Linked DNA regions of Homo sapiens: region 2 is linked to region 1. Evidence: promoter capture Hi-C in human tissues and cell types (Jung and others, 2019). All regions are on one chromosome and are shown on one strand. Each heading gives the region's core, a stretch centred on a gene start or on the middle of the fragment in contact. The rest is flanking DNA. Distances are from core to core; before and after follow the strand shown. Region 1 holds the start of STC1 (stanniocalcin 1). Region 2 overlaps LOC107986931 (a long non-coding RNA gene).

Region 1 (5,415 bases), core at 2,059-4,558:
ACTTTCCCTGCTCAGGGCAATGGCAAAGTATACCCTCCCCTCCCACCCACTGCACTTGGGCGCACTTGGGCGCACATTGCAGTCAAGTCCTTTTTTTAGGTAATTCTGCTGCTCAACAGTATGCCAGAAAGCACCTGCCTAACAGAGACACTAGATAGTCCTGTCAACTAAAAGTCATAACTAAAATATAAGGAGGGAAAAGTCCTCATGTGTATTATCTCCATTACCACTAAACTGGGAGAAAGGTTTTTCCCAAGACAATCCTTAGGTTAATTAATAATTTCCAGTTCATTTAAAACATCTCTCATATTTGTCTCCCTTCCTTTCCTGCCACAACCATTGTAGGCCAGAATCTCATCAACAAAATTCTGTTATTAACAAGTCTTAAAACTTCTGTTCTTTTCTTCCTCCAAACCATCATAAGTATGATGAAATAATCTTGCCTAAACACTTATTTCCACCCATCATTTAACAATTCCTACTCAAGAGCCCGAATAACTTCCTGTTCCTTACAGGATAAAACTCAGACTGTGAAGAGCGCTAAGCAAACTCCTCCATATTCTCTCAGACCCCCAAGAGAAGTTACAAAGAAACCAGACATCACCACCAGGGCCCCCAAGACCCTTTTATCTTGCTATATCACAGTTCCAGACAGTTGCACAATGATTGAGGGCACTTGGATATCCACATACCATGACATTCTAGGCAGAAATTTTACACTGGGCATTTCATGTAGACTTCAGCTCCTTCCCCTAAGGTTCTCAAATGCATTGGCATGCATACTAGTTACATTCAAATCAATGGGCTGACCACTATTGTATTTCTTCAAAGGACAGTTTACCTGTTATTGGGAAACACTTGGCACACCTAGCAATGAACTTCCAGGCACAAGATAGTAAGTGAGCAAAATAAGAAGGAATAATAAATCAACATCAGAAAAAAAAAACACAAACACATCTTGATGCTTGTAGGACATCGTGTTCTGGTGAGAGCAACGGAGAGTTGGAAAAACAAAGTAGATGGCTGGTGGTAAATCATCACCCTACCAAGCCAAGCAGACCAACTCAGGGAAAGCCCAAGAGAAACAAATGGCACTGCCTTAGATGATGAATAATGGCCAAGGAGGTAGAGAATGCTAAAGAACAGAAGTCAAGACCCTTGGGAGGAATACGCATCTGTCCTCTTACTCCCTTTCTGGAAGAGAGCACTGAGAAATTCTATTGCCTTGCCTGGCATCTACTACTTCTAACTAAAGCAATACAAATAACCTTGAAGCTTTCCACAATACAAGCTTTGTTTTTTAAAAATGAAATAGCATAGCTTTTCCTAAATTCTTAAAAAGCAACAACAGCAGTTTACATCTTTCCCCACTGATCTTTCCCTCAAGAGCTTTCCCCCCATCTCCAGCCAGTGCTGCCTGAGCCTGTGTCTTACTATATGAGGTCCTGACATCCCGAACCTTTAGGAAGTATGACTGTGGCTGGTCATCTTCCCAACTCACCTGTAAGTACCTTCAGGACAAGAATAATGAACTTACCTTCTTCTCTATGTCTTCTCATTTATCCTCCCACATTGTCCCCTAGCACTCAGCCCAGAAGGTTCTAAAGAAATACCAATACTGCCTGTTAATATAAATTAAAATGTATTCTTGTTATATAATGTAAATCTGAAAATTCCCTTCCTTTCTTTTAGATATTTCCTGTATCCTTTATTCCTTCTATTCCTTTTTCTAGCAAACTTTCATACTTACCAAACAACCCTATTTTGTGAGGGATAGGCTATCATCACCCAGAACCGTCCGCCGCCCCCCCCCCCCCGCCCCCCACCACCCTATCACCCCACAACATACACAGAGCTGACACTTGGTTTAGTTTGTGGTTAACAGGGGTGGCACTCTTTCTTCAACTTTTGTTTGAAGGTTTTAGGATGCAAAGTAAAGCCACTGGCCCCATTTCTCTGCAAGATTATCCTGCCCAAATCTGTATGAATCACCAGTGGCCATTTCTCATCTACTTCCCCAAAATTATTAAAGGTTTTATTGTATAATACCTTCACCACCTTCCTACCCTAAGAAGTCCTCTTCTGGCTCATTAACCTCCTTCACATGTTGGGGACAAACCTCAGCATTGCCTACAACTCACTTATAAGAAAATATAAGTTTCTATACCAGGCATGATTTGTGATTGCAGTGCAATTTTCCTATTAAGTCTAGAGCTTATCATTCTTCTCTCCTACACATTCTGGTCTTTCTCTACCCCTTCTTTCCATTCTGCCCCCTTTTTTCCTACCCCTCTCCCCAAGAAATGAACTGGTTTCCATTCAGCAGGTTTAGTCTTGCTTTGGCCAGCTTATTGTTTCAAAGTGGTTATAAAGTTGCTGGGCTTGAACACAGATTATTAATTTTCAGGCATTCATGATGTCTCCCTGTTGAGTGTGGTATGTGCAGGTGTGCACATGTGTACCTGGGGTAACTAACACTCCTGGACTATGCAATTTTGCTGGTGACTGAAAAGATGAAGTCAAAGTTGATTTGATTATTGAAGAATCACATTATTTTAGAGGTATACAGAATGTCAGAGTCCAACTTTGGCGTTTTACAGATGGGAAAACGAGGTGGGGCAAGGTAAAAAGACTTAGCCAGAGTCATAGGTTGATCAGTAGGGGGACTAAGGCTTCAGCTCTGAGCTGTCATATCTCAGTCCCCCAAGGCTTTTCCACTCACATAAATTCCCCCTCAAGGGCTCAAATGTGTGAGTGAGAACCCAGGATGTCCACATACAAACAAAAATGCATCATAGACATGTGAACATGTACACACAGAGAAGATAGGGAGTTATTGCATTTGTAGCCTACAAAACAGAACCGAGAATGTGCTGTTAAAATTAGAGTAAAACTGCTGTAAGCAGGTTAAGTTCTCATCTAAAGAGATCACATTTCCCCACCATACCCCTGCTATCCATTTCCCCCAAGTGGCTCATTAGAAAAAAAGATGGCTAGATTTCAAAAAGCAACTTGGAGAGATTTCTATAGGATTTTTCTTTAGTTCAATCAATACAGAGTTATCTCTTACTTCCACGAAAATAGCTTTTTCACACATCTCTGCACACACAGTCACACACACATATAAAACATTGGCAGCAGGTACTTTTAATTTGCTGGAAAATATTTCTAAGAAGTCAAAAAGCTCCAGCTGAATTGCATGCCCTCTTATTGGCTCACCAGACCAGTTGAGGGACCTGATTGGTCCTTGATCCTGAGGACCGATAAGAACGGCTATAAAATCCCTGGGTGCAGCTCTTGGGCCCCCAGTTTGCAAAAGCCAGAGGTGCAAGAAGCAGCGACTGCAGCAGCAGCAGCAGCAGCGGCGGTGGCAGCAGCAGCAGCAGCGGCGGCAGCAGCAGCAGCAGCGGAGGCACCGGTGGCAGCAGCAGCATCACCAGCAACAACAACAAAAAAAAATCCTCATCAAATCCTCACCTAAGCTTTCAGTGTATCCAGATCCACATCTTCACTCAAGCCAGGAGAGGGAAAGAGGAAAGGGGGGCAGGAAAAAAAAAAAACCCAACAACTTAGCGGAAACTTCTCAGAGAATGCTCCAAAACTCAGCAGTGCTTCTGGTGCTGGTGATCAGTGCTTCTGCAACCCATGAGGCGGAGCAGAATGACTCTGTGAGCCCCAGGAAATCCCGAGTGGCGGCTCAAAACTCAGGTAAGCAGCAAACCCAAGAGCGGTTTCTCCCCCAAAGAGCTGTCCTCATTTGCCTCTCCCTTTTGCAACTGTGTCTGTGACGGCTGATCTTGATAATAAATGTGCTTCATGCCTGATGGCAATAAACTGCCAGTGTAATCCAATAGCCTTAGGCAGTGGAGCTCCTTTGTTTAATAAATTGCATGCAACTAAACGAAGAAGCTGGACGCTCTGCTGAGGGTATTTCATTGCATAAGCCTAGCCTGATTGCCTGAAATCTGGCACGTACCCTCTTGGAGGGGGAGGGGTGAGAGGGGAGGAAAGGCTTGAATGTTGGCATGCTTCAAAGCGCTCTCTATACTTTCCAGAAGCTGATCTAAGGTAAGACCTGGCTTGTTTGATGCTGTCCCTCTTCCTTTCCTCTTAAGACTCTACCTCTTCACTTCTTGACTTCTCTACCTAAGAGAATACACAGAAAAGCTCCCTCTTCAGACTGATTTTCAGAACCATAGCCCTCAAGTCTGACAAATCCAGGGCGGATTCAGAGAAAACCCTATACATCCCACCCCCAACCCTGCTGCCTGTCTCCCTCCTGGCTCTGTAGGGCTCCATTCAGTCGTCCCTGCAGCCCGTAGCCAGAGAGCCCCTAGAAAAAAAAAATTGTGAAACGTAGCAGCTGTTTCTCCAAGGGTAAGGTCTCACTTTCGTCTTGACTCTTGGAGCAGTTAATTGTGCATTATCTTGGCTTCTGAAGGAAAAGAATCATTAGGAAGCCTGCATTGACACCTCTGCCTCTTGACTTCTCTGGCTCCACTTGTTCCCCTTCCAATACTGCCCTCTGTCCTCCAACTGTCAGCAAAGACCGGATCACAGGTGTCAAAATGCTGCAGATGATGATCCCCTTGGAAGAGCACAGGTCCCTGCCGAGAGGAGGGCTTTTGCTTCACTTCCTTTTGTACTTAGTTGCTATAGAGATGCAGTGATTCACAATTCGAGCTTGCCTAAAACAATAGCAGCCCTAATGCATATTAAAACTGCTTAAAGCAAAGTTATAATTTAAACCCGTGGAAATATATAATTAGGGAAATGACTTGTAACATCCTAGAGGCTGCGGGTGGTGGGAGGGGGTGGGGAAGACTAACTGAACCATGCTTTTGATCTCAGAGGAGAATCCTATGGCATGAAGGCTGCAGATCATTCCTTGCCTAGCTGCCTGCCAGAACACCCCCCTTCTGTGGGAGAAAAATTACTTTTATGGGAGATCTTATCCAGAATGTAGAAAGCCTCATGCAAGTTTTTTGCGGTTTTCTTCCAGTCTTGCATAGGGAGGCCTTGGCCTGGTTATTCCACACCTGTGTTTCTTCTTTCTTTCTTTCTTTCTTTCTTTCTTTTTTAAAAGGCTTTTAATATGAAAGAGATTATGCATACCTCTAAGCACTGTCCTAGTGGAGGGTTGGGGTGAAACATGAACGGATCAGATTTCTTTTTGCCAATATGACGGTAAGTTAAAAGCCTGAAATCAGAAGGGTCTCCAAGTGGACTCCTGGCACAGTCTTCTCTGCCATTTAGACTAAAATCCCATGCTTTTTACTCGGGAGTGCATTTTTCCAAAGCTAGATGGATTCCCTGGCCCTTTTACCTCTTAAACCTGACCACTAGCCACTGTCTCCTTCCTTCCCATGCTTTCAAGTGCTAAGCAATGACCTTTGATTCTATGGAATGGCTTAA
Region 2 (5,415 bases), core at 1,996-4,495, 250 kb before region 1:
AAAAAAAAAAAAAAAAAAAGCAGCTCTGTTTCTGCTGGAAGAGCAAAGAAGGAAGAGGCTAATAGCCAGGGAAATAGGCCAGACTGTGGATTTTAAACCCAAAAAAAGCACAAACACAAGTCACCCTGAAAATAGCGCTGGCTGGACAAATGGTGGACTGGAAGAGCCTTTTGAGAGAGAAATTGCTGAGAACATTTTAATTCTCTTCACCAGTTTGCCTTCTTCCATGATTGTAAAAACCACAACAAAAGGAGAAAGGCCACTGTGGGACAAACTGCTGCAAAGGTCGTTACCCACTGGATGGCAGTTGTGCTACTGAACATACAGTGGCCTTCCTCTATCATCCTTCCCGGGCCAAATGAGGTACCCCTGCCATCTAACTCTAGAGTTCAAGTTGTCATAACCCAAAGACCCCTTGGTTGTTCTGTTGTGAAAATGAGCAGATGCTCCTGCCTACTGTCCTGTGCGTGACATAGCTATGTTCACTAACCCAGGGGCATAAAAACCTAAACCACTCCTCAGTCCTGGTTCAGGAGGTCCTGGGGTCTGGCCTAAGGAGCCACTTGTTCCTGATGACTGGTCCACTTTGAACAGTTCTCTGTGCCCATTTGATTCAGCATGATGCTGTGACTTTTCATCAGTCTATTCCCCTATAGGTTCGTTACTTATTCTGTAGAAATATAAATTTAAAAAAATGCCCGTAAGAAGGACAAAGTGAGCCTGAGTCCATAGAAGAAAGTCTTCCGACCACTGTATACCAATAATCTCTGATACAAGGAGGAAGGAAATGCACATTTTATATCAGCTTTATATTAGGATATAGAGTACTTATCAAGAAGACATGAAACTTTTAATCCAAAGTGGATGAAAACTCTTCTCTAAAACAATAGAGAAAGAGAAATTAATGAAATGCAAAACTCCTTAATCATTCTAAGCTCGAACCTATTATTTTCATTTGGACATTCTTAAATCAACTTCCTCACTTCCTCACGAAATCAAGTTTTCGCACTGGAGAGGGTAGCGTACTGCTATTTGGAGGTAGGGGGTGGAATTCATTTGTAAGTAATCATATAGCATTACAAAGATAAATAATGCATTTATCAGCAAGAGATAAGCATACCACAGGGAAAAAAAGTAGAGCTAGCCATTTTCTTGGGATTATTCAGAGTGTAGGTTATACCATGTCACCCAGAGTAGATACTACCATTCGAATGCGTGTCACATCCATTATGGAATGATGCAGGAAGGCTTAGTTTCCTCTTCAATTTACTGTTCTAGTGGTTATGTTAGAAAGTTGCAATTTGGCCTTCTATGAGTTTTTATTATATTAACAAAAGTAATGTTATTAATTACTACAAATTTATTAATAATTTTATAAAGTTACTTTAATAAAAATAAATACATGAATTTATTATAAATTTACTGGTTATTATAAAATTAAATATAATTTATTATATTTTTATTGAATTTATTAAAGAGGCATTATGTTCTCACCAGGGATTTGGGTTAGACAGTTTTTCACATCCCAAGCCACCTTTGCATTTTTCATAGACATGACATCCACGTGGAAGAGACTTGGCATTCTCAACAATGCTTTCAATTGCTAATTCAATTGTTTTTCAATGGCATGCCTGCTACACTGCCCAAAGTTTGAAAAAAAAATCATATATTAAGCAGTTTTCAGAATATTGATTTTTCCAACTAACTTCTTTGGGGAAAATAGATGTCTTCAAATTATTGCCTTACCCTTTCCCATACATGCCCTTGTCCAGGCATTATCACCTTCATGATTAATTCACAGCAACAGATCTTTCTGTGACTCTCTCCCAGCTAGCAGTGTCATGACTGCTTTGCAGAGGGGCACAGTGAATTAAGCAGGTGTGCACTTGTGGCTGTGTGACAGGCAATAGTAAGTCTATGAGTTCACATGCTGATTCATGAATAATCATGTTTCACTAGCTAACATACACAAAAAATTACAATTTTATATATGTATGATGAAATAGGGATTGGGGAGGGCACATTGTAAAATGAGGAAAGATTCTATCCCTACCCTTTCTTATACTCTTATGCTCACTTGATAATTTCTCTTAAAACAATTTAATTCATGTGGATTTCTAAACAACAGCCCATGGCATTTGTAATAACAAATCCAAATCCTTAGCCAGGCTTAGTGGCTCACACCTGAAATCCCAGCATTTTGGGAGGTCTAGGCAGGCGGATCACTTGAGGCCAGGAGTTTGAGACCAGCCTGAGCAACATGTCAAAACCCTGTCTCTACAAAAATACAAAAATTAGCCAGGCGTGGCGGCACATGCCTATAATCCCAGCTACTCTGGAGGCTGAGGCAGGAGAATCTCTTGAGCCTAGGAGGCAGAGGTTGCAGTGAGTCAGGATCACTCCCCTGCACTCCAGGCTGGGCAACAGAGCAAGACTCCATCTTTAAAAAGAAAAAAAAAAGATAAAAGAAAGAAAAAAATTCTTTTTATTTATTTTATTTTATTTTATTATTATTATACTTTAAGTTTTACGGTACATGGGCTTTGTAGGGACATGGATGAAGCTGGAAACCATCATTCTTAGCAAACTATCGCAAGGACAAAAAACCAAACACTGCATGTTCTCACTCATAGGTGGGAAAAAAATTCTTTTAACCTGCTAAGTTGTACTACTTTTTAATTTACTTAGCAAATATTTTAATTTGCTTAGCTATAGTATAGCAGGAAAAAAATAATTTTAAGCTACCACTCACAATCTGATCTTTCCAACTAAATTATTTCAGTTTTTGCTTATTTTCTTCTAGTCTTGTACCAATTTATGCTATATATTAATATATACATACACATGTACAGTTTTAACAGCCAGTGAAATATGTACACTGTTAAATACCTATATAATTTATATGCAAATACATGTTTATTATGGACATACACATATGTACTTTATACTGCTTGTTAGAAACAAAGATTACTGTGTTCATTTAGTATTGAAACATAGCTATCAATCAATGATTTCCCTCATTGCCATAATCGCAATTGTCACTCATCTTGGCTTAATCACCCAAATTTTCTTAACTTCAATTTCCTTTTTGAGGGAAAAAATTATACAAATACTATTGCCCGACTTACTTCACTGGAATATCAGAAGTCCTTTAAAGAGTCAGTGGGAAAATGCACTGCAAAGACATAAAGCTTTGAAATGCAAGGTGCTGTGGTCATTGTCACAACTGCCTTTTACCACTCCTGTCCAGGTGAGAAGCTTCCTCTGTAGGTGAGACACTGCTGCTGCCCTTACGTTCTGTCAAGCCATCTCTTTTACCTGGAGATGCAACTGGCAATTCAAACTCTACCAGGAAGCTTTTAAAAGTGCATTCCACTCTACACTGTCTATAGCTTTAGAGTCTATTCTCTCAGTGCCTTTGTGTTTGGAGGAAGAGCCTGAAGAAAAAGGCTAAGTTCTCATTTTTCATAGTGAAAAGCTAAAATACAATGCCTGAAACAAAAAAAAATAAAAATAAAAAATCAGGAATTAACATCATAAAATGTGTTATTTAGGACATACATGGAAATACCAAGAGAAAAAGCTAAAAGAATGGAAAGCAGCTGCCTATAAGGAGTGGGTGCTGGAAATAGTGGCAGAAGAAACGTGGTTTTCATAATAACCTTTGTAGAACTATTCAACCCCTTAACCTATGTGTATACATATCTTTTAGAACAATGCAAACTTTTTATAAAGTTTACATTGGAAAAAGGTTTACAAAATGCCTTGCATGATGCCTGTTACACGGTACGTGCTTAATATTTTATCATATGTCTTATGGGAGAGACAGAGCTGCTTGTTTTTTCCCCCCTCAAAAGAAGCCTGTGCTCTGATTCTCAATTACTCTCATTGCCTAATGATCGATTTGAGCTTCCTGATCATGGCCTGTGTCCTCCTAACCTAATCTCCTCAGTTAATTTTTACATACTAATCAGAAGGAGGCAACCGCTCCAACTTCTCTTAGTGACAATGCCCTGGAGTCCCATTATACTATTGCTTTCACAACTCTCCATGGTTCAGTGAGTTGCTGAATTTGTATCTCCAAGCTTGAATTCTGCTGAAAGCTCCAGACTTACGTAGCATTGCACTCTGTGACTCTGCTGGGAAACTTAAACTCGATATGAAGTCTACATGAAATAAAAACTTAAATAGACTTTTAAGACCTGTAGCTCAGCTTTAAGGTCTTCCATCAAAACTTCCTTCCTCTGTGGAACTGAGTTGGTAAATGGCTTCATGATCCACCCAGCTAGTGTTCAATCTGTAAATCTGAGACTCGACTATGAGTCTCAACTTTCTGCCTCACTTCTAACATCCAATTCAGAATCAAGTCATGCAGATCCTGACTGTAAAATATATCTCAAAATTGCACACTGTTCTTCACCACCTCTATGACCACATTAGTCCACCTCAATACCATCACTTGCTAGAATGATTACAAGAGCTTGCTAATTACTGTCCTTGCTTGCAAACTTTGCTCTTCAGTGGTTTCCCACACAGCAGGCAAAGTGATCTTTGTAAATACAATCTGGCCAGGCTATTCTCTTGATTTAAACCCTTTAATGGATTCCCACTGTGCTTAGGTCCAGGAGAGCTTTATTATCTGGGAACTATTTCTCTTTCTCTTGAACCATTCTCCCTCAAGCTATCTCCTGCATACTGGCCTCATTTCAGCTTTTCAAGGACACCCAGCCGTTTCCATTTCAGGGACTTTTCACAGAGACTACCACTGCCTGAACACTTGTCTATGATCTAGGCAGTTGAACACCTCCCACTTACACTACGTTCCAGTTCAAATGTCCTTTCTTAAATAGCCTTCTTTTTGGATGCATTAATATTAACATTTATCACAATTTTTATCTTTATATTTATGTATGTGAACATCTGTTGGTTGACTCCCCTTCCAAACTATGTTCTGGGAAGTCAAGGACCATGTCTGTTTTGCTAGCCACTTGACCTCAGGACTGGCTCATTGTAGGTGCTCAAACACTATTCTAAAGCATCTTCCACTAATGGTCAATTCATTTTAAAAGTATCAAGTTAAACAGACTGCAAGGAACTAGCCCAGGGACAATCTATGGGGCTCTTGCTGGCAAAAGGCCCTTTAAAAATGGCTCTTTTCACCCAGCCTTCCAAGTTCCACAGGTCAAGGACACAGCAGGATTCTTGATGACTTATACAAACTCAGCTCAGGAGAGCCAGACCTCCTTCTTCCCTTGGCTCCACATGCAAATAATATGAACATTTTCTTATTAAAAAGGAAAAGAGCATCTAAGCTATTTTATTCTGAGTATTTGTTCAGTAAGGAGAAGTTTACACAGCTTGTGGAGAATTATTCAGCAGGAAATTAAATCTCTGTAATTCTGAATTTTCACTTTG

What was found. Contacts are between HindIII fragments. The study calls those that stand out against the background at their distance.
Region 2: a contact is called between a fragment that was not itself captured here and the fragment with the promoter of STC1 in region 1, in 4 of the 25 tissues and cell types used here (H1 embryonic stem cells, mesenchymal stem cells, mesendoderm cells and 1 more).

Annotation. Positions count from the first base shown.
Region 1 is chr8:23,852,699-23,858,113 of GRCh38, reverse strand. It overlaps STC1 (stanniocalcin 1), which reads left to right and starts at 3,308. Exons shown (of 4, transcript NM_003155.3): 1 at 3,308-3,708. The coding sequence starts at 3,591. The HindIII fragment of the contact is 6,962 bases long and covers 1-5,300 here.
Region 2 is chr8:24,105,833-24,111,247 of GRCh38, reverse strand. The region is part of intron 2 of LOC107986931 (a long non-coding RNA gene); the gene reads right to left. LOC105379328 (a long non-coding RNA gene) reads right to left here. Exons shown (of 3, transcript XR_949589.2): 3 at 4,944-5,415. Among named protein-coding and RNA genes, the nearest start is that of ADAM28, 190 kb to the left of the region's middle. RefSeq lists an enhancer at 4,250-4,887. The HindIII fragment of the contact is 4,994 bases long and covers 749-5,415 here.